Regions from separate parts of the Homo sapiens genome. Here regions 1, 2, 3, 4, 5 and 6 are each linked to region 7. The links are contacts of gene promoters, found by promoter capture Hi-C in blood cells and fetal thymus (Javierre and others, 2016). All regions are on one chromosome and are shown on one strand. Each heading gives the region's core, a stretch centred on a gene start or on the middle of the fragment in contact. The rest is flanking DNA. Distances are from core to core; before and after follow the strand shown. Region 1 overlaps GXYLT1 (glucoside xylosyltransferase 1). Region 2 overlaps APAF1 (apoptotic peptidase activating factor 1). Region 3 overlaps ACTR6 (actin related protein 6). Region 4 has its middle 2.0 kb from the start of YARS2. Region 5 overlaps IRAK4 (interleukin 1 receptor associated kinase 4). Region 6 overlaps PUS7L (pseudouridine synthase 7 like). Region 7 holds the start of ZFC3H1 (zinc finger C3H1-type containing).

Evidence for each region. The method cuts DNA at HindIII sites, captures the fragments that hold promoters and counts their contacts. A CHiCAGO score of 5 or more calls a contact.
Region 1: a contact is called between a fragment that was not itself captured here and the fragment with the promoter of ZFC3H1 in region 7, in 1 of 17 cell types (total CD4 T cells). The highest score is 7.5, in total CD4 T cells.
Region 2: a fragment that was not itself captured here is called in contact with the fragment with the promoter of ZFC3H1 in region 7 in 1 of 17 cell types (neutrophils); the score reaches 5.6 in neutrophils.
Region 3: a contact is called between a fragment that was not itself captured here and the fragment with the promoter of ZFC3H1 in region 7, in 3 of 17 cell types (total CD4 T cells, non-activated CD4 T cells and naive CD8 T cells). The highest score is 14.7, in total CD4 T cells.
Region 4: a fragment that was not itself captured here is called in contact with the fragment with the promoter of ZFC3H1 in region 7 in 1 of 17 cell types (total CD4 T cells); the score reaches 8.7 in total CD4 T cells.
Region 5: a contact is called between a fragment that was not itself captured here and the fragment with the promoter of ZFC3H1 in region 7, in 1 of 17 cell types (total CD4 T cells). The highest score is 6.8, in total CD4 T cells.
Region 6: a fragment that was not itself captured here is called in contact with the fragment with the promoter of ZFC3H1 in region 7 in 2 of 17 cell types (total CD4 T cells and fetal thymus); the score reaches 6.8 in total CD4 T cells.

What each region holds. Positions count from the first base shown.
Region 1 is chr12:42,135,412-42,139,148 of GRCh38, reverse strand. All of the region lies in intron 1 of GXYLT1 (glucoside xylosyltransferase 1), which reads left to right. Among named protein-coding and RNA genes, the nearest start is that of GXYLT1, 7.6 kb to the left of the region's middle. The HindIII fragment of the contact is 3,412 bases long and covers 587-3,737 here.
Region 2 is chr12:98,658,478-98,661,839 of GRCh38, reverse strand. It overlaps APAF1 (apoptotic peptidase activating factor 1), which reads right to left. Exons shown (of 27, transcript NM_181861.2): 5 at 2,497-2,680. Among named protein-coding and RNA genes, the nearest start is that of APAF1, 15 kb to the right of the region's middle. The HindIII fragment of the contact is 4,050 bases long and covers 1-3,362 here.
Region 3 is chr12:100,203,902-100,207,150 of GRCh38, reverse strand. It overlaps ACTR6 (actin related protein 6), which reads right to left. Exons shown (of 11, transcript NM_022496.5): 2 at 2,094-2,211; 3 at 1,407-1,475. Among named protein-coding and RNA genes, the nearest start is that of ACTR6, 4.7 kb to the right of the region's middle. The HindIII fragment of the contact is 5,782 bases long and covers 1-3,249 here.
Region 4 is chr12:32,756,268-32,759,501 of GRCh38, reverse strand. No RefSeq gene overlaps it. Among named protein-coding and RNA genes, the nearest start is that of YARS2, 2.0 kb to the right of the region's middle. RefSeq lists an enhancer at 2,746-3,234. The HindIII fragment of the contact is 556 bases long and covers 1,360-1,915 here.
Region 5 is chr12:43,767,195-43,770,613 of GRCh38, reverse strand. It overlaps IRAK4 (interleukin 1 receptor associated kinase 4), which reads right to left. Exons shown (of 12, transcript NM_016123.4): 2 at 2,342-2,511. The coding sequence starts at 2,502. Among named protein-coding and RNA genes, the nearest start is that of IRAK4, 10 kb to the right of the region's middle. The HindIII fragment of the contact is 157 bases long and covers 1,428-1,584 here.
Region 6 is chr12:43,750,722-43,754,308 of GRCh38, reverse strand. All of the region lies in intron 2 of PUS7L (pseudouridine synthase 7 like), which reads left to right. Among named protein-coding and RNA genes, the nearest start is that of PUS7L, 6.3 kb to the left of the region's middle. The HindIII fragment of the contact is 3,386 bases long and covers 13-3,398 here.
Region 7 is chr12:71,661,895-71,665,523 of GRCh38, reverse strand. It overlaps ZFC3H1 (zinc finger C3H1-type containing), which reads left to right and starts at 1,676. Exons shown (of 35, transcript NM_144982.5): 1 at 1,676-2,511. The coding sequence starts at 1,914. It overlaps THAP2 (THAP domain containing 2), which reads right to left and starts at 1,223. Exons shown (of 3, transcript NM_031435.4): 1 at 944-1,223. The coding sequence starts at 1,014. RefSeq lists enhancers at 1,214-1,573, 1,023-1,581, 1,934-2,053. The HindIII fragment of the contact is 1,665 bases long and covers 1,074-2,738 here.

The DNA of each region.
Region 1 (3,737 bases), core at 1,043-3,542, about 30 Mb after region 7:
TCATGGCTCACTGCAGCCTTGACCTTCTGGGCTCAAGTGATCCTCCCACCTTAGCTTCCCGAGTAGCTGTGACTACAGGCGTGCACACCACACCTGGCTTTTTTTTTTTTTGAGACAGAGTCTCGCTCCATTGCCCAGGCTGGAGTGCAGTGGCATGATCTTGGCTCAGTGCAACCTCCGCCTCCCGGGTTCAAGCAGTTCTCCTGCCTCAGCCTCACAAGTAGCTGGGATTACAGGTGTGTGCCAACTGCCCAGCTTTTTTTGTTTTTTTCTTTTTGTATTTTTTAGTAGAGACGGGGTTTCACCGTGTTGGCCAGCCTGGTTGGTCTTGAACTCCTGACCTCAGGTGATCCACCTGCCTCGGCCTCCCAAAGTGCAGGCATGAGCCACCATACCCTGCCTAGAAAATCTTATTTTAAAGCAGTAAGATCATTATCTATATGCCATACCTATTGGAAGTACTTCCCCTACGTATAAACTTAAATTTTGTTCATAATGTGTGTACTGTATGAGGTTTATGATTTTTGTTTTCAGATTGGCTACTTTTTACTTTATCGTGTTTACCTTTATTACGCATAGGAAAGCTTTCTACCAGTTTTTTTCCCCTCCCTTTTTTAGATTTAAATCAATCCAGCTTTGTGGGGGAGCTGGGGGCTGGTAGAGGAGGTATATTGTGTGATGCTAACTTATTCTTTGAAATGGGTAGATGATTGTTTCAGTGTCATTTATATATAAGCAGTCCTTTTCCTACTTGCCAAGGATTAATGAAATTAGAAATTTAAGAAAAAGAAGATCTTACTTAGAGCTAGAAGTTAAGTTGTCTAGAAATTATTTATTTGTTTGTTTGTTTATTTATTTATTTATTTGAGACGCAGTCTCTGTCACCCAGACGCAGTCTCTGTCACCCAGACTGGAGCGCAGTGGCACTCTCTCGGCTCACTACAGCCTCCACCTTCTGGGTTCAAGCGATTCTTCTGCCTCAGTCTCCTGAGTAGCTGGGACTACAGGCGCATGCCACCACACCTTGCTGATTTTTTATTTTTAGTAGAGATAGGGTTTCCCCATGTTTGCCAGGCTGGTCCCGAACTCCTGACCTCAGGTGATCTGCCTGCCTCAGACTCCCAAAGTGCTGAGATTACAGGCGTGAGCCACTGCGCCCGACTTGGAAACAATTTAGTTGAAAATTAAATAGTAGTGATTTGGCAGTATCATGGGAATGGCCTCCTTTAATGTGTCCGTAAGCATCTTTGCTTTTCTTGCACAGTCACAGGGAGGGTATACATGCCTTGAAGTTGCATTACTGCTTTGCAGCAGCACTTCATTCATACTGTCAAATATTTATGCTGAATATGCCTAAATTTATCACTGACTTTTTTTTTTTTTTTTCAATTTGAGATGGAGTCTCGCTCTGTCACTTAGGCTGGAGTGCAGTGGCATGATCTCGGCTCAAGGCAAGCTCCGCCTCCCGGGTTCACGCCATTCTCCTGCCTCAGCCTCCCAAGTAGCTGGGACTACAGGCGCCTGCCACCACGCCCAGATAATTTTTTGTATTTTTAGTAGAGACAGGGTTTCACCGCACCGTGTTAGCCAGGATGGTCTCGATCTCCTGACCTTGTGATCCGCTTTTTTTTTTTTTTTTTTTTTTGAAACAGATGCTCTGTCGCCCAGGCGGGAGTGCAATGACGCGATCTCAGCTCACTTTAACCTCTGCCTCCTGAGTTCAAGCGATTCTCCTGCCTTAGCCTCCCAAGTAGCTGGGAGTACAGGTGCATGCCACCAAGCCTGGCTAATTTTTTGTGTTTTTAGTAGAGACAGGGTTTCACTGTGTTAGCCAGGATGGTCTCGATCTCCTGACTTTGTGATCCTTCTGCCTCGGCCTCCCAAAGTGCTGGGATTACAGGCGTGAGCCACTGCGCCTGGCCTAATTTTTGTATTTTTAGTAGAGATGAGGTTTCACCATGTTGGTCAGGCTCATCTCGTATCACTGACTCTTTGGTAAGTTTTGCATAGTTTTCACTGAAGCCTCCTATCTTGGACATTTTGAAATGAAAATTACTTTTTCTAGTTTAACTTAAAAGTACAACCAGGCATGGTGGCTCGTACCTGTAATCCTAGCAGGGAGGCAAAGGTGGGTGGATTGCTTGAACCCAGAAGTTCTAGACCAGCCTTGGCAAAACACTCTCTCAACAACAACAAAAATACAAAAAATTACCTGGGCATAGTGGTGTGCGCCTGTGGTCCCAGCTACTCCAGAGGTTGAGGTGGGAGGATTGCTTGAGCCCAGGAGGTTGAGGCTGCAATGAACCGTGTTCGCACCACTGAACTCCAGCCTGGGCGACTTGTGTGTGTGTGTGTTTGTTTGTATGTATGTATGTATGTATGTATGTATGTATGTATAAAAAACCTCCTGTAATTGGTTTTAAGTAAACTTCAAGTTTGACAAATGTTATTATGCCGAGTGTTGTTTTATCACATGTAAATACATGTAACCACCCCCAAAATTAGGATTAGGATACAGAATTGTTTCATCACCGCAAAGGTACCTTGTGCTACCCCTTGGTCAGTTGTAGACAAGCTACCTAGAGCTAGATGCTTTATGCCTTATTAAACTTGAGGATGAGCCATAGTAACATTTTATTTCAGTTTGATCCACAGTGAAAAAGTTCCCTTTTAGGACTTCAGTGCTTTTGAATGTCAGTATGGGTATAGTGAAGACATACCCACCTAACTCATATTAATGCTTTGCCTCATTAAAATTATTTAATAGAGTTACCTCTTTGAATGTTGGATGTTTAATATTCTGCTTTCAACAGTTTTAAGCAACTAATAGCCAGAACCTGGATAACTACCTTTACTTTTCCAGTATTTTCAAACTTTAATTTTTCTTTTTGGCCTAAAAGTGCAAGTGCTGTCTTCAGATGAGTTGCTTTTGCTAATTTATCTTATTGCTTCTAATAAGCCACTGATATGTCATAAGTTCTCAGTGTGAGTTTCTACTCTTTATCTAAATCTCCCAAACCAGTTTTTCAAAATGGGAGAATAGATATTTGGGAGTTAAAAAACTATAAACAAATTACTTCATTCCTTACAGCAATACCTAAGTGTTTTATGATTTTTTAATGGTATGCAGCATATGTATTCACTAGTGCATGTGTTCTTATATTTCCAGTAAAGAAAGAAAAACATCTTTCCTATATACTATGTGTTTTTTGACATTGAATTATGATCAATAAATTTACCTATAACTTGATTTTTCCTATCCAATTTTGACTGCATTAAACCTTTGTGAAGTAAATCATTACCCCCCAAAGAAACCCTGTATCCAGTAACAGTAACTCCCACCTTGCACTCCTCAGTCCCCCAGTCATGAGCAACCACGAGTCTACTTTCTGTCTGCCTGTTTGGGGCATTTTACATAAAGGAATCACACAGTATGTGGCCTTTTGAATCTGGCTTTCTTTTTGGCATAATATTTCAAGGTTTATCCACTGTAGCGTGTATCACTATATTTCATTCCTTTTTATGGACAAATAATAGTCCATTGTATGGATATACCACATTTTGCTCATTATTTGGTGGACATTTGAGTTCTTTCATACTTTTTGGCTATTATGAATAATGCTGCTCTGAGCATTCATGGACAGTTTTTCTGTGAACATGTTTTCAGTTCTCTTGAGTATATACTGAGGAATTTAATTGGTGAGTCATGGTTGCACAACTCTGAATATACGAAAAAC
Region 2 (3,362 bases), core at 208-2,707, about 27 Mb before region 7:
ATAACTAAAACCTGATAGCATAATTATACAATAACATTTTTGTCTGAATGACACACTATGGCTGTGCATTACAAAAAAAAAAATACTCTAGGCCTGTAATCCCAGCACTTTGGGAGGCCAGGGCAGGCGGATCACCTGAGGTCGGGAGTTTGAGACCAGCCTGACCAACATGGAGAAACCCCGTCTCTAATATAATATTAGCCAGGCGAGGTGGCACAAGCCTGTAATCCCAGCTACTCAAGAGGCTGAGGCAGAGAATCGCTTGAACCCGGGAGGCAGAGGTTGCAGTGAACCGATATCGCACCATTGCACTCCAACCTGGGCAACAAGAGCGAAACTCCATCTAAAAAAATAAAAATAAAAATAAAAATAAAGAAATACTCTAGGCACATACATAGGTTGAAAAATTACAAAAGCACAAACCAAATGAGACTGAGAGATTAAAAAAATATGCCTGGCTTTGTAAGCTAGTCTGACACATCTGAAAGTGGCTACATTATTTTACTCAACAGAAGTCAATTTTAATTTTGCAAAAAAGGAAAAGTAGAACTAGGGAAAAGTTACTGAGCAATTAAAGAGGGAAGGGTTAGTGATCTCAATCCTATTTCCTCTACACAGATCAATATCAAGAGAAGGAGGGGCCGAGCGCAGTGGCTCACGCCTGTAATCCCAGCACTTTGGGAGGCCAAGGTGGGCAGATCACGAGGTCAGGAGATCAAGACCATCCTGGTTAACACGGTGAAACCTCATCTCTACTAAAAATACAAAAAATTAGCCCGGCGTGTGGTGGGGAGCCTGTAGTCCCAGCTACTAGGAGGCTGAGGCAGGAGAATCACTTGAACCCAGGAAGCGGAGCTTCAGTGAGCAGAGATTGCACCATAAAAATATAACGAATATGCATCAGAATCACCTAGTAGGCTTTTCCCAAAAATACTCTTCTCACCCTATATTCTGATATTAATACCCTTACCAATTTGAGAATCACTGCCATACTCAGCAACTGCTACATATGAAAGTATACTGCATCCTTGGGTGCATTAGGGCATTTTTAAAAAGTGCAGAGCCACTACCTAACTCTCACTCAGTATACTATAACATTCCCAAGGAATGCTTTATTTATCTTTGTACTTGCAGCACTTGGCCCAGAACCTGGCACAACACTCAATGTTGGTTAAATGAACAAATGAAAGAGAGGCTGTTAAGATGACAGAAATCAAATTGTTGACTGAATCCAAGGTTATACTCTTAAGACAAGCAGCAACTAAACTGCTGTCTCCCTTTTGGCTAATGAAAACTGTGAAACACTTGATAACAGTGCCTGGCACATAATTATAATGGTAAGTATTTGCTGAATTAATTAACTGTTGAACAAACAAAACAAACTCACTCCTGAAGTACATGGAAGTAGAAGAGTTACACGTATATTTCTAGAAACTAAGACAATCAAACAGAAGAGCCCCATTAAAAATCCTTCCTGACTTTTTTTTTTTAATTGAAACAGGGTCTTCCTCTGCCACCCAAGCTGGAATACAGTGGCACAATCTGGGTTCACTGCAGCCTCAATCTCATAGGCTCAAGTGATCCTCCCACCTTAGCCTCCTGAGTAGCTGGGACCACAGGTGTGTACCACCACACCAGATTAATTTTTGTATTTTTTAGAAAGACAGGGTTTCATCATGTTGCCCATGCTGGTCTCGAACTCCTGGACTCAAGCAAACTATCCACCATGGCCTCCCAAAGTGCTGGGACTACAGGCATGAGCCACTGTCCCTGGCCCCTTCCTGACATTTATCAGTTGCCTGCATTTATTCTCTGTTGTTCTATGTTAACCCATTAGAAATAACGGATTCAAAGTAAGAAGTTTGCACTTTCTAGCAAAGACCACTCACCAACTCACCTACTTAAGACATTTCCTGAAAGCCTACAATGGTACATATGAGATGATGTGGTAGGTAGCATGCAAAGAGAAAAAGCAATTTTAGGCCGAGTGGCAGCCACTTTTTTTTTTCGTTTTAAATACAAGAGAGAAAAGCAGGAAAGCAATGGTTCTTTCTTTCTTTCTCTCTCTTTTTTTTTTTTTTTTTTTTCTGATGGAGTTTCACTCTTATTGCCCAGGCTAGAGTGCAATGGCACGATCTCGGCTCACTGCAACCTCTGCCTCCCGGGTTCAAGCGATTCTCCTGCCTCAGCCTCCTGAGCAGCTGGGATTACAGGCATGAGCCACCAACACCTGGCTAATTTTGTATGTTTAGTAGAGATGGGGTTTCACCATGTTAGTCAGGCTGGTCTTGAACTCCTGACCTCAGGTAATCCAACAGCCTCGGCCTCCCAAAGTGCTGGGATTACAGGCGTGAGCCACTGCACCTGGCCGCAATGGTTCTCTCTTATCCTCCCTATAGAACAGCAGGAAAAAGGCATGATGTTCTCAAGAGGTCAGTAGTTACATCTTATTGGGACATGGGACCTGACACACCAACTAAATTTGACCATCGGTACCTTGGGTGTTTGCGAAGCATCAGAATGCGGAGACGGTCTTTAGCCTCTTCAATATTAAGTGGAAGCCTCTGGGAAAAACTCTCATCCTGATCCAACCGTGTGCAAAGATTCTGCAGTTTCATCAGAAGCCCAGATTTGTCTTGTTTCCCAACTGAAACCCAATGCACTCCCCCTGGGAAACAACCTAGTGAGGGAAAGAATAATGAACTTAAGGCCTTTCAACAGGAGTACTCCTTTAAATGGTTTTACTGTTAAGCATCAGATTTACTCCAATTTACAATCCCATCACATCTTCAACTTCTCTTGATTTAGAGTAGAAATTTTACGTGCAAGATACTGGTAGGCTTTATATCCTGAATCTAAGACAAGTTGAAGATGTGAAGAAACTGAAGTTTGAAGTAAATCTGTGGCTTATCGGGAAAATCTTACCAAGTAAAGTTTTATGATCTTTGTCCTGTGTTGTCAGTGATCACTGCACAGCACAGTTTCTAAACCTTGTACTTCTGACTTTTTGGGATGGCAATTCTTTGTTGTAAGGGACTGTCCTATGCATTATAGGATGTTTAACAGCCTTTTTGGTCTCTATCCACTAGATGCCAATAGGATTCCCCTTCACCAGTACTGACAAACAAAAATGTCTCCAAACATTGTCAAATGTCACCTGGGGGGGTGTGAAATCACCCCTCGTTGAGAACTACTGATGTCCTGGAACATATAACTCACCCATTATGGTTTTCTTATACAGACTTAAAATAGGAAGTTAGACTCAAGTCTGGCTCTACTGCTTACTAGCTAAGCAATCTTTATCAAATCATTTAACCTCAGTCTCATTGATTATACTGAAATAAGGCTGTCTAGCCCACCTA
Region 3 (3,249 bases), core at 614-3,113, about 29 Mb before region 7:
GCCTGGGAAATTGAGGCTGCAGTGAGCCATGATTGTGCAACAGAGCAAGACTCTGTCTCTAAAAAATGAAAGAAAATGTTACCATAAAATTGTTTAAAGACAATTATAGAAACATTAATGAATGATACAACAAATATTGGGGCTGTTATGTTTCTAAATGAAAGGAAAACAAGGTCAGGCACGATGGCTCAGCTTGTAATCCCAGGACTTTGGGAGGCTGAGGCAGGCAGATCACCTGAGGTCAGGAGTTCCAGACCAGCCTGGCCAACACGGTGAAACCCCATCTCTACTAAAAATACAAAAAAAAAAAAAAAAAGAGCCAGGTGTGGTGGCGCATGCCTGTAATCCCAGCTACTCAGGAGGCCAAGGCAGGAGAATCACTTGAACCCAGGAGGCAGAGGTTGCAGTGAGCAGAGATCATGCCACTGCACTGCAGCCTGGGCAACAGAGCAAGACTCCCCCTAAAAAAAAAAAAGAAAAAAAAAAGGACAGAACAAGACAAAGACAAAACAAGAGAAGATGGGGCTGGTGCGGTAGCTCACGCTTGGGCGGATTGCTTGAGCCCAGGAGTTTGAGATCAGCCTGGGCAACATGGTGAAACCCCATGTCTATTAAAAAGAAAAGAAAATCATAATAAAAAAAAACTTGCAGATGTTTTATTTATGTATTTATTTATTTATTGAGACATAGTCTTACCCAGGCTGGAATCCAGTAGTGCAATCTCGGCTTACTGCAACCTCCACCTTCCAGGTTCAAGCAATTGTCCTGCCTCAGCCTCCCAAGTAGCTAGGACTACAGGTGTGTGCCAACATGCCTGACTAATTTTTGTATTTTTAGTAGAGACGGGGTTTCACCAGTTGGCCAGGCTGGTCTCAAACTCCCAACCTCAAGTGATCCACCCGCCTCAGCCTCCCAAAGTGCTGGGATTACAGGCATGAGCCACTGCGCTTGGCCTGCAGATGTTTTAAATTAAAAAAAAAAAGGCAAAGGGCAAGATGCTTAAGATATTCAAGTTTATGTAATTCTCTCACACACATTCTTGAGAAGTATTAAAACTTGAACATTTTCTCCTTATACCTATAATCACATTACAGACATTAAAAACACAAAATCCTCTTGTAATATTCATGTATTTAGATATGTAAGCAAAAACGTTTGTGAAAATTAAGATGATATAGTGAATTGATCTAATAATAGAAATCTGAAGTAAAATTTTGAGTTTCATACAGACTATCTTTACTCAACCTCTACTTCAACATGGAAATTTTATTCACTTGCATTTATTATTTATTTTAAATGTGCGGAGAACATTATTCATAAGTTTATAAATCTTAAAATGTAAATTCTAATTTTTCATTACAATTAAACATGGAAATAGAATTTTAATACATACTCTAATTTGTTACCTGATACATTTCTTTTCCAAAAAGGTAATCCCAAACTTGTCTCTGAACATCCCAATTCACCAAGTAGCCCTAAAAAATGTTTTTATAAATTTAATTATCAAGAACATTTGAATAATTTTTAAAAATCAGATTATAAATATTTGAATAATTTTTAAAAATCAGATTCCAAATCACTGATTTCTATCTATGGTTACCATTTCCAGTGTAATGCTGTATGAATTTCTTTTTTTTAATTTAAAAAAAAATTTTTTTATTATACTTTAAATTCTGGGATACATGTGCAGAACGTGCAGGTTTACTACATAGGTATACTGCTGTATGAATTTCAAACCAATTATGTTAGTATGTTTTTCTCCTTTAAAAAGTTAAAAAACAAACTCACAAATAAGCAATAACTAAAATGTCAGAGGTTCAAAAGACACACCAATATATACAGTTGCCTCCCTATACTTATTTTCTTAAATTAATGTGTGCATACCACTTAGATTTAATGTAAGTAAAAATCAGTACTCACAATAAGTAACTAAATCATGGTCGTTTATTTTTACCCAAACAATTAAATTTTAATTTGGGTTTAATTAGGTTGTAGTTAAAATTTAAGTTACACACAGCCTTTTATATACAATTAAAATTATCTTTAAATTTAGGTCTACAATGCTAGAAATGAAACATAATTAATTGGATTACCTTTTGAAAAGGGAGGATGTAAAAGAGTCCAGAAGGGTCTTTTATTTCATCTATCTGGTTGGCAGTAAAAGTTTTAAGACGTGCTGTTTTTGACCGGAACTGACAATTAGGAATAACCCTAGAAACAAGGAAACAAATAATTATCCCCTAAATATTTAGTTCCTAAAAACATTTTTACTTCACCACCACTCTTGATGCCAAAAGATTAGCGTATCCTAAGATTGGTATATCCAGTGTTTCTCATTCTGTCTTAAAATAATACCAAAGGCTGGGAGTGGGGGCTCATGCCTATAATCCCAGCACTTTGGGAGCAGGATGATTGCTTGAGACCAGGAGTTCAAGACCAGCCTAGACAACATAGCCAGAACCTGTCTCTACAAAAATAAAAAATAAGGCTGGGCATGGTGGCTCACGCCTGTAATCCCAGCACTTTGGGAGGCAAAGGCGGATGGATCACTTGAGGTCAGGAGTTCGAGACCAGCCTGGCCAACAGGGTGAAACCCTACCTCTACTAAAAAAAAACACAAAAATTAGCCAGGCATGGTGGCACATGCCTGTAGTCCCAGCCACTAAGGAGGCTGAGGCATGAGAATCACTTGAACCTGAGAGATGGAGGTTGCAGTGGTCTGAGATTGCACCCCTGCACTCCAGCCTTGGTGATGGGGCAAAACTCAGTCTCAAAACTAATAATAAAATAAAACAGAAAGAGAAAAATACGAATCAGGCAGGCATGGTGATGAGCATCTATATTCCTATCTTCTAGAGGAAGGCTGAGGCAGGAGGATTGCTTAAACGCAGGAGTCTGCAGCTGCAATGAACTGTGATCCCACTACTGCATTCCAGCCTGGGTGGACAGAACAAGGCCCTGTCTCTATTTTAAAATAATAATAACACAAAAATGCCCCTCCCCCATTTTTTTTTAAAGTTCAGTATGTAACAAGTTCTATACTGGATCCTTTCTTTCTCTAATAATCCTCAAGAAATCCTTACAGGTAAGTATTGCTTCCGCCACTGCAGAGGCGAAAGCCAGTGCTTTGGTAAAGGTCCTAGTCTTTCTGGCTTTAACACAGAAAGTCTTAATACCATTTGGATTAAAGATTCACAAGTTAGGCCGGGCGCGGTGGCTCATGCCTGTAATCCCAGCACTTTGGGAGGC
Region 4 (3,234 bases), core at 388-2,887, about 39 Mb after region 7:
CAGAATTCCTCAGACTTCTTTCTGCTGTCATTTTGCTGTGATGTTCGAGCAGCTCATATTTCAGCCCTAATCAGATCTCTGCTGTAATCTGAATATATATTTAATACAATGCTAGAGATAGAGAAATTTTCAAAGTTAAGTAGAGATCAGTTAAAATACCATTACTGTTTACTCTGTGTCTTTTGAATTCTATTATATTTATATTTGTTTACATTTTGAAAACCAAGCCATTTAAAACAGGGATCCCTTCAAAGAGAACATTTATGTGGCATTTTGTTGCAGGAAAAGGTAACTGTAAAACACATGTGCCTCTAATTCAAGGCCAGTTAACCTCAAGTTATTACAGTTGAGATAAATCATATTTTTAAAAATACTTTTTAACCCTTGTTCACTCACTTTTTAAGCCAATAAAAACAGCAAGAATTAACTTGGTCACTTTTTTGTAACCCAAATGCAAACCATGGGTGCAATCCCATAAAATTTTAGCCACGGATATAATTCCAAAGGTTTGAAAGTCCCATCTTCTTTATTGCTCCTGTCTTTGGGACAAAGCCCAATTTCCCCTATAATACCAACACAAATTATAAAAAGAGAGTAATTGATCTCACTGTATTTTCCAAACTTGTTGCTTGTTACTGTCATTAAGCTACTGTCAAGTCTCATCTAGCACCTCCTGTGACACCACCTTCTTTTTTTTTTTTTTTTTTTGAGACGGAGTTTGGCTTTCGTTGCCCAGGCTGGAGTGCAATGGCATGATCTCGGCTCACTGCAACCTCCACCTCGTGGGTGCAAGCAATGCTCCTGCCTCAGCCTCCCAAGTAGCTGGGATTACAGGCATGCGCCACCATGCCCGGCTAATTTTGTATTTTTATTAGAGATGGGGTTTCTCCATGTTGGTCAGGCTGGTCTCAAACTCCCAACCTCAAGTGATCCGCTCACCTCAGCCTCCCAAAGTGCTGGGATTACAGGCGTGAGCCACCGCACCCGGCCCGACACCACCTTCTATATCAGACTTTGCTGCCTCTTCATGAGATGCAACTAAACTTAAGAGACAAAGCAGAGCTCAAATCTATTTTTAAAAGACTTTATAATAAATTGTAATCCCAGGTAGAAATTTTCTATTTCTCATTATCCACAAAATTCTTCTCCATTAAGCACAGGTCATCAAGTAACCCTGACATCAAGTAACCCTGGCATACTGTTGTAACAAGTAGGATTTTCAAATTACTAACACACCTGTAAAAGCCAGAGAGTTGTGTGTCACCAGAAACACATGTGTGCCCTATGTATTAAGGTACTAAATAGAAAGCACCATTTGCTGTGTGTGTGACAGTACTGATTCCATGTTAGAAGAAAGCTTGCTTACTTGAATACAATTATTACTTTGCTTGATTTTGTAGATCATTCACTAAAATCAGCCTCAGAAAAACAGGATCTTGAACAGAGATAAAAGAAAATACCTAGATCAGCCTCTCTGTGAATGGGCTGACCGACCTAATAAGAATAGGCTGATGGTACCTGCAGAAAGCCACAAAATATTGACCAAGAAAGCAATGATTTACTGCCGACCTGAGACTGCACACGTTTCACAAAAATCTTTTTATCATCCTTTCTCTTAATTGCCCTTAAAAACCAGAGGTGGTCTTTGAACGCTAGCTCACTGCATCCCCCAGGGTTGCTGGTCTCTTGAATAAAGCTAACTTTACTTTCACTACAGCTCTTCTCTTGGGTTTTTGGCTTTCAAGTGACAAGTGGCCCAGATGTGAGTTTCCTTACGTGTGCTCAGGAGAATTTCCTGCCATACCTACTGAAATCTGTCCCTGATCAAAGTGGTGGACCATATGACTGCAGATTGGCCTTGCGAAGTAGCTCATGCCTGTAATCCCAACACTTTGGGAGGCAGAGGTGGGAAGCTTGCTTGAGGCCAGGAGTTTAGGACCACCCTGGGCAATACAGTGAGACCCCCGTCTCTACAAAAACAAAAAATAAAAATTAGCCAGGCATGGTAGTCCACACCTGTAGCTCCAGCTACTTGGGAGGCTGAGGCAGGAAGATCGCTGGAGCCTAGGAGTTCAAGGCTGCAGTGAACCATGATCCTGCCACGGCACTCCAGTGTGGACAACAGAGTGACACTTAAAAAAAAAAAAAACACTGAAGATCAACAGGTTATGATTGCAAATTTTAAGATATTTTGAACACACTATTTTCTTAAGCAGTTGGGAGTATGTTTAATAGCCTATTGAATGAGTATCTCAAAATCCTATTGAAGTTACTATTTGGCAATGAGAAACTAATTCACTGATAATTATACATGCAAAGAAACTAATTATTAAAATAAGTTTTCATTTTGTTAGATAACTTTATAACGTTAAAAAATGGAAAAGTCCTGTAGGGAATGATTTGGAACATGGCCCAGATCCCAGTCACAGGACCAAGGCACTCAATCCCCCAGCTGCTGGGAGTGTTGGTTGCTTATTGCTCACAGCTGAGTCCCTTCCTGCACATCTCACTCTCCAAAAGCCTTAACCCAGCGTTTTGCTTCCTCCCCAGAAACATCCCACATTTAATGAGCAGTCAGTAAGAGGGTCTAAAGGTCTGCCCCCTGGCCTCAATTCAGGATGACTCTGAAAGGAAATCCCGGCTCCAGAGCCCTTACTGGATTGCCTGAGGCCTCTATTACAAATTGTTCACAGTTCAACTTCTTTCTCCCTCCGCCCAACCCGGCCTCCCTCACTCCATTATAGGTGTTGTTCTTAAGAGCACACTCCAATTACCCTCCTGCAAACCAGTCTCCCCCCCAACTCAGAGTCCAGGGAATTCTACCTAAGACGATTTTGAAAGCGGTCCTAGAAATCAGGCTCTAACATGGGATTTTGAAGCTAGATCACCTGCCAGCCAGCTGCCAATAAGAACCTCATCCCTGGTCAGTATTCAGAGCACCTGTCACGCTGCACGATGTGATTACTAACTTGAATCCACTCATGCTAAGCTGTGTCCCAACCTAGTTAACTGTATTTAAAATAAATAAACCACAGGACTTGATGCATGTACTTTATTGCACTGAGTTTTTCTTGCTATACCTTGGACAAGACTGCCACCTCCTGGAAGAGCCGATGAATACTGGGGACGAGGTGCAATTAGGGAATCGGTACTATGAAATTGCTTGCGTCTCAGCAGCAACTCCCTATCTCTCCGCGAACTTAAACCAATTCCTAACCTTTCTCAACCTCTGTG
Region 5 (3,419 bases), core at 257-2,756, about 28 Mb after region 7:
AAAGATGCCAAAGATGATGATAATAATTTACTGGGTACTTACTGGATATTTACTTAGTGGGTTATAGGATGCACACACATGAGCATGTTCAAAGATATTATGATTATCATATGAATTTACTAGTGAAAAAGCCAGGCTTGGAGAGGTAGAGTAACCAGCCCATAGCCACACAGCCAATATGATGTATCCAAGTTGAGGTACAAATTCAGATCTCATTTGACAAAAGAGTGTATTCTTAATCTACTAGCAATATTACTTCCCACATGACTTAAGACTCTGATAGCTATATAATTTTTAATAAATGCACCTGCTTAATTAAAGAAACAGAACACACAAAAACTTAGGAAATTATTCCTTTGATCTTAACTGTAATTCAATTAAATTGAAAAAAATCACAAAGTCGGCTTTCAACCCATTTCTTTCCATTTCTTTAAAATCAAAAATTAGTTTTGAAAAGTAACATTTAAAAATTTAACCAATATTGTTTCTTTCTGTTTTTCCTCTAAAGATTTTATTTTTAAAAATTTCAAACTTACAGAAAAGTTGAAAAAATGATAGAATGAACAACCATTCACCTAGATTCACCAATTGAATAATTGATAAAATTGTGCCATATCTGGGCTCTTGTGCATTCTCTCTTTCAATCTGTGTCTGTGGGTGTGTGTGTTTTAGAATACGGGCCAGATGTCTTATAGAATGGGTCTAACAGCCTAGATTTATCTGACTACTTTCTCATGATTAAATTCAGATTAAGCATTTTGGTAGAAATACTACATAGGTATAATGTGCCTTTCCCATTGTATCACATCCAGGGGTACATATTAGCATTTTGTACCATTATTATTGGTGCTAAAGTTTGATCACTTGGTGAAGGAAGTGTACTTCAGATTTCCTCATTAAAAATGTACCCTTCTCTTTCATACTTCACAAGTAATTTGTGTACAATACTTTTTCTCTATCTATTGAGGGGGTCTTGCTCTGTCACTCAGGCTGGAGTGCAGTGGCATGATCATGGCTCACTGCAGCCTTGACTTCCTGGGCTCAGGTGATCCTCCCACCTCAACCTCCCAAGTAGCTGGGACTACAGGCGTGCACTACCACACCCAGCTAATTTTTTGTAGTGATGGGGTTTTACCATGTTGTCCAGGCTGGTCTTGAACTCCTGGGCTCAAGCAATCTGCCCACCTCGGTCTCCACAAGTGTTAGGATTACAGGCATGAGCCACTGTGCTCAGCCTATAATACTTTAAAATCTTGTGCATATCCTGCTCACATGCACGAGAACAACCACCTTTCACCTTATGCTTTTAGGTTCAGTGATGAGCCTTGCATGAATCAGTTACTCATTGGTGGTTGCAAATAGGTATTTTTCTCATTCTACCATTCTTTTCACAATTATTTGCAGGTATTATTCTGTAAAGAAAAGCTTTTTCTGTCACAGGAATGAGTCTTGGAAAAAAGAAAAAAAAAAGAGAAGAGCTTTATCTTCCTGCCACCACTGCCCCAATTATCTTCCATAAGTTTTTAACAGTAATATCAAAAAATTATCTTTAAACATTGGCTTAACACAGTTTAAACTTAAGCTTCTTTCAAGTAATTTAACATGTTCGCTCTTCTTATGAGGAAATATTTCCTGCAAGGGAGCCAAGTCTTTTAGGTTCTTTCCCAGATTAATGCTGAAAATAACAAATAGTCTTCTTTTCCTTTTGCTACCAAAGAAACATTTTGACATAGGTTTTAACTGCAATGACTGACAAAAATAAAATATGCATGCATATTTTACACTAAATTGAGCAGAGATGAGTAAAAAGGAAAAATTGAAATTATCTGAAGACAGCACTGAGAAATCCTAGCTAAGATTTAAGAATTCTGTGCACAGAAGTGTACACTTGTAAGCAACAACTTTAAAACGTCAAATTGAAAAAGTCCCAAAATACATTGTTAGAGTGTGTTAGAGATTCACACACTTTGAAATTTAAGCTCTAGATTTTTACCAGACATTCTTGTAACATTCTTATTTTCCTTCAATCTGGAAATGAGAAGTGTGAGGCAGAGTGAACTTCACTTGGCTTGCCAAACAGGGAACCACAGCAAAGGTGGGAATCTTGATTCTAACCCAAAAAACTTATTTGAGAGATCACAGTATTAGCCCTATTGACATATGGGACAAAGAAGACAAAACTGCAAAAGGAACAATCAAAAAGAGGTTACCTACTACCAATGTCTCCTCCATAGTGGAGAGGTTTACTTTCTAAACTGCCACATTAGACAGTACTTATACCAATTAATCATTCCATATTGTGATGTAAGAATTTAAAAATACAAAGAATTTTATCTGTTACCTTATGTGAAACTGATTGTATCTATCATCACCAGATGGTTTTTTAATAGCTACAGCTAACTTCTTCCATCCTTCTTGAGGATCAATAAAATCTGACAGCTTCCTAATTAGTCCAACATTGAGGCAGCGCACATATGTTGATGGTGTTATGGGTTTGTTCATCTTCTATTCCTAAAATATGGAAAAATCTCATTAAAATTTTACAGTACTTTTAGAGATGACATCTGTAAGCTTATATATCACACTTTGCTATATCATATGAAATGTCAGCAACTGATTATACCATAATAAAGAAACATTCCAAAGTCAAGTCATTGATATCCTAAGATGAAATTAAAATTGTAATTCATTTGTCCAATTATCCTCTGGGTTTGCTTCCTTTTTCCACCCATTAATAGCAATAAAAATCGGAGGACTTTTTTCTGACACTGATATTTTCCTAGTAAAATTTATAGAAAGGGGCAAAAAACTTACCAGAAAAATTCTTAAGAGTAATATCAACAAACTATCAGAATTAGCATATTCAGAAATCAAATCTATTAATAAAAACATTTACCTTTCAATTTATGTTTCTCAATTAGTACTTATTTACAATTAAAATTTATGCAACATTCTTTGGTAGAAGTAAAAAAAAAAAACGTACTGAAATGATTTGTGTAGCATTAACAGATATGGTCCACCCACCCACTTTTCACATACTTTGCTCTTCCTTGACCTCTGCACATTTTTTGAGTCCATGAGATCTGCCTGACCACAATTCATTTGCTACTACGCCAAAACCTGTGCTTCACCACTTCAACTACTCTCTAGACAGAATCTTTATTTCTGCAATCCCCCTTTACTTCTGCTACTCCATCCTGGAGAGCTGCAGCCAGGGATAAATCTAACAACTTTACTTGTACACCAGGGTTGCTGATGTGAATACAAATTTATGGTAACCCCCTTTCCACAGGGCCTTCAACACTGCCGTTAATCCTTCCACTTGTCTTCTCTCATAGTCCTTAGTGACTATTTCATACCTTTACTTCTTTCTATGTGGATTTTATTTGTTCTGCGTGTCCCTCATTCTCAATAGGAAA
Region 6 (3,587 bases), core at 456-2,955, about 28 Mb after region 7:
CTTGGATAAGCTTAGCTAAATTTAAAATTGTGAAAATGAATTGAACAGACTTGGCTAGAGAGATTGGAAAGAATATATGATTTACCTTTAGGGAGAGGAATTGCTGATAAGCAATTTAAGCAACTCTAGGAATTCTTATTTATTCTGTTACTTACTAGAAGATGATAAAACCTTTTAAATTACACTGAATTTAAAAATTAGCCTTACTGATAACCTAGGCATTTATATTAGCCTATTCACAAATGTATAAAGTTGAAGCAGTTGGTTCGTGTTTAATAAGTTTTATTGAAGGTAAATCTTGATTTCATATTTTGGAAGTCATCTCAATTAAAATTAAGTTTTTAGAGACTAGAAGAATATATTTACTGTGCTTGGGAAAGTGAAGAGATACTCTGTAATCCAAAACAAATTATATTTCCCTACCCAAGGTAGGGAACCTGAAAACTTGGTCCTGCTGGTCTTTAGACAAGATGTTCTGAAACTTTAGCATGCATATAATCATCAAAAGTTCTTGTTAAAACAGATTTCAGAGCTCCATTCTCAGTTTCTGATTCTGGGGCTTTCACAGATTTCCAGGCAGTGTTTTTTCCTGGTCTGCTATGTTTTGAGAATCACTGTTTTAGGGTCTGTGTTTAATTCCCATGGTGGCTGGAACTGATGAACTCTCACTGTAAAAGTCCAGCTGACTAGGTTTAATTGGCCTCAATTCTACTTGAAGGATGGGAACTGTTTCAGATGATCATATTTAATAAATTTATTTAGCAAGATATTTTAAGATAAAACCAGGAACCTAAATTTGCACAGTGACACAGAAATAGGATGGTGCCATGTAGGGACTACAGGTGCAAATGAAAAGAGTTTGGACCTTGGAACTATGTGGGTTTGATTTGATATTATGACTTTTAGTTCACAAAAAGACTTATGAAATTTTTAACATGTTTAAGATTTGATTTCACAAATGTAAAAATGGGAAGAATAATACCTTGGGCAAGTTACTTAATAATTCATAACTTTTGGTTGTACTTGAAAAATAGGGTAATAGGAAAGCCTGACTCACAATGATATTCGAAGGATTAAATGAAATAATGAAATTGTTTACTATGTAATAGTTACTTAATATTAGGCATATAGTAAGTGTTAACAGATATATCCATTTTGAAGGAAAAACAATACTAGCTTTACTTGTAGAAAGAGGAATTGCTGGTGAGTGATTTAAGCAGCTCTAGGAATTCTTATTTATCTTATACTACTTGAAATTCTAACAATATTAATTTGGGTTAATGAGTAAAAAAATTATAGAACTTTATATATTAGTTTAAATTCACTTTTCTAAAGTTGTGAATAGTTGGAGGCATATGTTAAAAGGAGGAATGATGGTTCAAAAAACCTTTTATTTTTAATTTTAAATTACATTAAAATATACATAACATAAAATGTACCATCTTAACCATTTTTAAGTATCAGTGGCATTGAGGACAGTCACATGGTTGTACATCCCTCACCACCATTCATCTCCAGAATTTTTTCACCATCCCAAACTAAAACTCCATATTTATTAAACAATTCTTCCTCCTCTCCAGTTCTGAAAAATGGGAACCACCATTTTTCATTCTGTCTCTATGGATTAGACAACTCTAGGTGTCTCATATAAGTGGAATCATACAGTATTTGTCTTTTTGTAATGGGCTTATTTCACTTAGTATGTTGTCGAGATTCATCTATGTTGTAGCATGTGTTAGAATTTCCTTCCCTTTTAAGGCTGAATAATACCCCATGGTAGGTGTATGCCACATTTTGCTTACCCATTTGTCTGCCAGTGGATGGGATATAATGGTCAGTAAAGCACACGTGATATTTACTTTGTAAGCATTCAGCCTTGGAACTTGGAAAGAATTTGAGGGAGAATGTGGATGTGAGGTGACTTCTGAGGCTAGGTCATAAAAGTATTACACTTCTTGTCATGTTCTTGGATTGCTCACTCTGGGGAAAGCCAGCTGCTATGCTGTGAGGATACTCAAAACAGCCCTTTGGACAGGAACTAGAGCTTCATGCCAACAGCCAGTACCAACCTTCCAGCCACGTAAATGAGCCCCTTTGGGAATGGATCCTCCAGTTTCTTTCAGGCTTTTAAATAACTGCAGCCCATCAGAGTGAACAGGCAACCTACAGAATGGAAGAAAATTTTTGCAATCTACTCATCTGACAAAGGGCTAATATCCAGAATCTACAAAGAACTCAAACAAATTTACAAGAAAAAAACAACCCCATCAAAAAGTGGGCAAAGGATATGAACAGACACTTCTCAAAAGCAGACATTTATGCAGCCAACAGACACATGAAAAAATGCTCATCATCACTGGCCATCAGAGAAATGCAAATCAAAACCACAATGAGATATCATCTCACACCAGTTAGAATGGCGATCATTAAAAAGTCAGGAAACAGGTGACAGGTGCTAGAGAGGATGTGGAGAAATAGGAACACTTTTACACTGTTGGTGGGACTGTAAACTAGTTCAACCATTGTGGAAGACAGTGTGGCAATTCCTCAGGGATCTAGAACTAGAAATACCATTTGACCCAGCCATACCATTACTGGGTATATACCCAAAGGATTATAAATCATGCTGCTATAAAGACACATGCACACGTATGTTTATTGCAGCACTACTCAGAATAGCAAAGACTTGGAACCAACCCAAATGTCCAACAACGATAGACTGGATTAAGAAAATGTGGCACATACACACCATGGAATACTATGCAGCCATAAAAAATGATGAGTTCATGTCCTTTGTAGGGACGTGGATGAAGCTGGAAACCATCATTCTCAGCAAACTATCGCAAGGACAAAAAACCAAACACTGCATGTTCTCACTCATAGGTGGGAATTGAACAATGAGAACACCTGGACACCGGAAGGGGAACGTCACACACTGGGTCCTGTTGTGGAGTGGGGGGAGGGGGGAGGGATAGCCTTAGGAGATATACTTAATGTAAATGACAAGTTAATGGTTGCAGCACACCAACATGGCACATGTATACATATGTAACAAACCTGCATGTTGTGCACATGTACCCTAGAACTTAAAGTATAATAATATATATATATAAATTAAAAATAAATAAATAAATAACTGCAGCCCTAGCCACATCTAACTGCATGCAACCTCAGGAGAGCCTGAACTGGAACCACCAAACCAAAGAGTTCTTGAAGTCCTGATCCACAGAAACTACAGGAGATAAATGAATATTGTAAGCCACTAAGATTTGAAGTGACTTGTTACGCAACAATAAATAATACATAGCATTTAACCGTAGACATGCATAAATTACTGATCAGCAACAAACTCAAGGAACGATTTATGTAGATTTCTGGAACTTCTTCTCTACAAAGCTTTGTCTTATCAGGTACTCTCCCTGTGAATTCCAGCCCACTCAGCCTTCCTGAATTCCAATATCTACCCTCCTAACTCAGCAAAACTCCTGTGCTCTACCTGGATTCTGTCTGTGCTATGTTCCAGAATGTACTTCTAGGCAGAAAATTAGAGTATTTTAGGATTCCCCTCATTTGTTTTTCTTTTCTTT
Region 7 (3,629 bases), core at 427-2,926:
TAGGAACTCCGTACATATTTGATGGATGAATGAACAAAGCACTACATATGCATGAACTAGTTTAAAAACAGAAACATCACAAGATTTTTTTTAAGTGGCAGCTTTTAATAAAAGTACAGTTCGTAATAGGTAGGGAAAAAGGTCAAGGATATAATTTCTACATACTAACATATACGTTGTTAGGTATATAAAATATATAAAATCAGGACTGGTGTCACTTAACTTTTTAATGTGTCTTTTCTTCGGGCACGTGGCAGGCACTTGCAGAGAAGGTAAACATTTACAGAGTACCTGTTATTTTCCAGGCATTGTTCAAAGTGCTTTCAAGAGTTCTGGTTTGACAGAACTAAAGAATTTTGATTTTTCTTCCAGCAAACAAAAGAAAACCTAGGTTCTTTTTATTACTCTATTCTAGTAAGAACAGAAAGGTTATCTTTTGCACTTTAATTAACATCGCTTAATTCCATGGCTATCAAAGATGACTCAATTCCTCCGCAGAATTACTATGTGACTATTAGAAATCTAAATGCCTCCCATGTCAATTCATCTAGTGAGAATTTCCTAATTTTAACGGGAACACAGCAGGCTTTTACGGTGATTGCTGATTGGGAAGATCTCTTTCTCCCTTACGGCGTCATTCATGTCAAGGCCCGGTCTAACAGAGGAATAAAACAGTAGAAAATTACGATATCCTCCTGTTACTTTTTTTTACTAAGGGGTAATGACCAAACAGTACTTGGATTTCTTTTAGAAAATGAGTAAAGCTTCCCCGAAAGCAGAGAACAATTGGGCAGATTTGAGAAACACAAAGGACATACGATGCTTCCCTGCTACCAGCTGGGAAAGTTATTAGAATTAGCAGAATCCTCCTGTTCCTTCCACACAAGCGATAGCCACAATAGGAACTCCAGTTTCCGTCACCCCCACTCCCTGCCCAGGTTACCTGTGGAAGCTGATGTTAATGTGCTTGTTGTAGGTAGTGGCACAGCCCGCCGCAGCGCAATTGGTCGGCATTTCCCTTTCCCACTCATTCAGCGCCCTTAGGTCTCTACTGAGGCGCTGGCTGCTAAGCTTTCTTCTGGCAGAGGCTGGACAATCGAGGCAGGCGTGCCTTAATCGTGAGAGCTTAGTCGTGAGAGCGGAGTGGGAAGAAGGGGTGTGTATGTGGGGGCGGAGGCGAAGGACGGTCAGCCTTCCCTTTCTCTTTATTAATATGGCCGACTAGAGCCCACAGAACTGGCCCTCCTGGAGCTCTAGTCGCCTTCGCTTGACTTCACCAACATGGCGGACACAACCCGTTCTTTCTCCCCGCCCCCAAGAGGGAGCGGATCTACTGCGTTTCTTTGGCAGCGGTCCTCAGAGCAATTAAAAGGAAGAGGTGTTTTCCCCTCCGATTACTATAAATTACAAGAGTTTTACAATAAAACTCTCTCAAGGCTGCAACAGCAGCTCCACCTACTTCTGCATGCACCCAACTGTACCAAGCCAGACCCTGCGGTGGGTGTGACCCTAGGACCGGAAGAGTAAACCCGAAGAAAGACGAAAGACTACAAATCCTAGTGAGTATCGAGTTGGTCTTATTATCGCGTGAACTGGGAGCCTTTGTTTCCTGCGTGTCGCAGGAAGTGACGTTTCGGGTACAGCCGCTACCAGAGTCCCTTTCTCGCGAGGCGGAAGAACCCCGATCGCTGAGGAGCAAGGGGGCGCTAGGAAAGGGAACTGGGTTGCGACGGTCCGGCGAGAGAGAGCTGGGGTGCTGGGGTGCGGGGAAGTTGGGGAGCAGAGGCCGCTTGGTGTCCGAGTAGGGTAAGACCGCACCGACCCAGTCCGTTAGGAAAGAAGGGAAACGAGGCAATTGTCGGGCGGATCCCCGGACGGAGGGCTAAGGTTGTGTGGAAGGCGCTGCTCCCCGGATGGCGACCGCAGATACTCCGGCCCCGGCCTCCAGTGGCCTCTCGCCGAAGGAAGAAGGGGAGCTTGAAGATGGGGAAATCAGTGACGACGATAATAACAGCCAGATACGGAGTCGGAGCAGCAGCAGCAGCAGCGGCGGCGGGCTGTTACCCTATCCGCGGCGAAGGCCTCCTCACTCGGCCCGGGGCGGTGGATCTGGCGGAGGCGGTGGCTCTTCCTCGTCATCGTCCTCTTCTCAGCAGCAGCTGAGGAATTTCTCACGCTCGCGGCACGCGTCTGAGCGGGGCCACCTCAGGGGACCCAGCAGCTACCGACCCAAAGAACCGTTCCGGTCTCATCCGCCTTCTGTACGGATGCCTTCGAGCTCACTGTCCGAAAGCAGTCCCCGGCCGTCTTTCTGGGAGCGGAGCCACCTCGCCTTGGACCGTTTCCGCTTTCGAGGCAGGCCTTACCGGGGTGGGAGTCGCTGGAGTCGGGGGCGAGGAGTGGGTGAGCGAGGAGGCAAGCCGGGGTGCAGACCTCCTCTGGGAGGAGGAGCAGGATCCGGGTTCAGCAGCAGTCAGAGCTGGCGAGAGCCCTCTCCACCTCGGAAGAGCTGTATCCTTAACGTGGCGGTCGGCGCTGGGTGTGTCACTAAAGTTCCCTTTAGCGTCATTACTAGGTCTGTGAGACGAGTGTAACTTTGAATCATCAGAACCGCTTATTTCTCCCTGTGTCAGTATACTTTAAGTTGTTCTTTGGTAATTCCCCATGTGTCACACTATAGCGTTATTCTTAAGACTGCTTCATTGGGTATATTAACGTGCTGTGGATTGGGTTAAGCTTATGAAATCTAAGACAGTTAAGTCTGATTTGTAATAATACCTTAGAAGCCCAAGTTTCATTAGCATTTGTATTTTTGCTGGTACAGAAACTTTGTGTTTTATATGAAGTTGACTTGGATTGTTAGAGAAAAAATATTCATAAACAGTTTAAGTAATATTGTTGCTTTATCATATTGCAGTTTGACGTTGAAAATTGTAAAGTTTTAATCTGCACAGTCCTGCACTATTTTTGTGATTCTGTTTTTATCTTGATTTATTCCGGTTGCTGCCTTTTAAAGTGGGGGGGGGAGGGGTAAAAAAAAAACAACTCTGGTGTCTTTACCAAGTCTGTTTCAGAGCTTTTTGATTCATTTGATCTTTTTGGAACACTTTACCTCCTTTACGTTTCTATCTGTGTTCACTTTTGCACATTGTGTAACTTCGTGCTGACTAAATGAGGGCCAGAGAGAGAAAGATAAACTTATCAGCATTTTTATTTTAATACGTTAGAGTGGAGGAATGTGTATGCGAGGGTGGAGATTACGGGTAAGTTGAGAAAGGAAATAGTAACATTCCAGATTTTTCCTACTTCTAACCTTATTCTCAGTTTTAAACATTACTGAGTTTACTCAGCATTTATACAGAGGAATCAATCATCCGAAGGTTTCCTGTTTTATAATGGGTTTGTAAAACACTATCTTGACTTAATCTGTGATCATTGCAAAAATTGTTTAAAGACTTTCATTACTGGTTGTAATTCACATAGTGTGATGATTTTTAATTTCGTTATTATATATGAAACTTAAAAGTAATGACAGTTATTTGGAAGACAATCAGAATTACTTTTATAGAACACTTAGGTCCAGAATAGGTCTTTCTCAAATGTCATGATGTAAAAGGGGCAAGGAATGT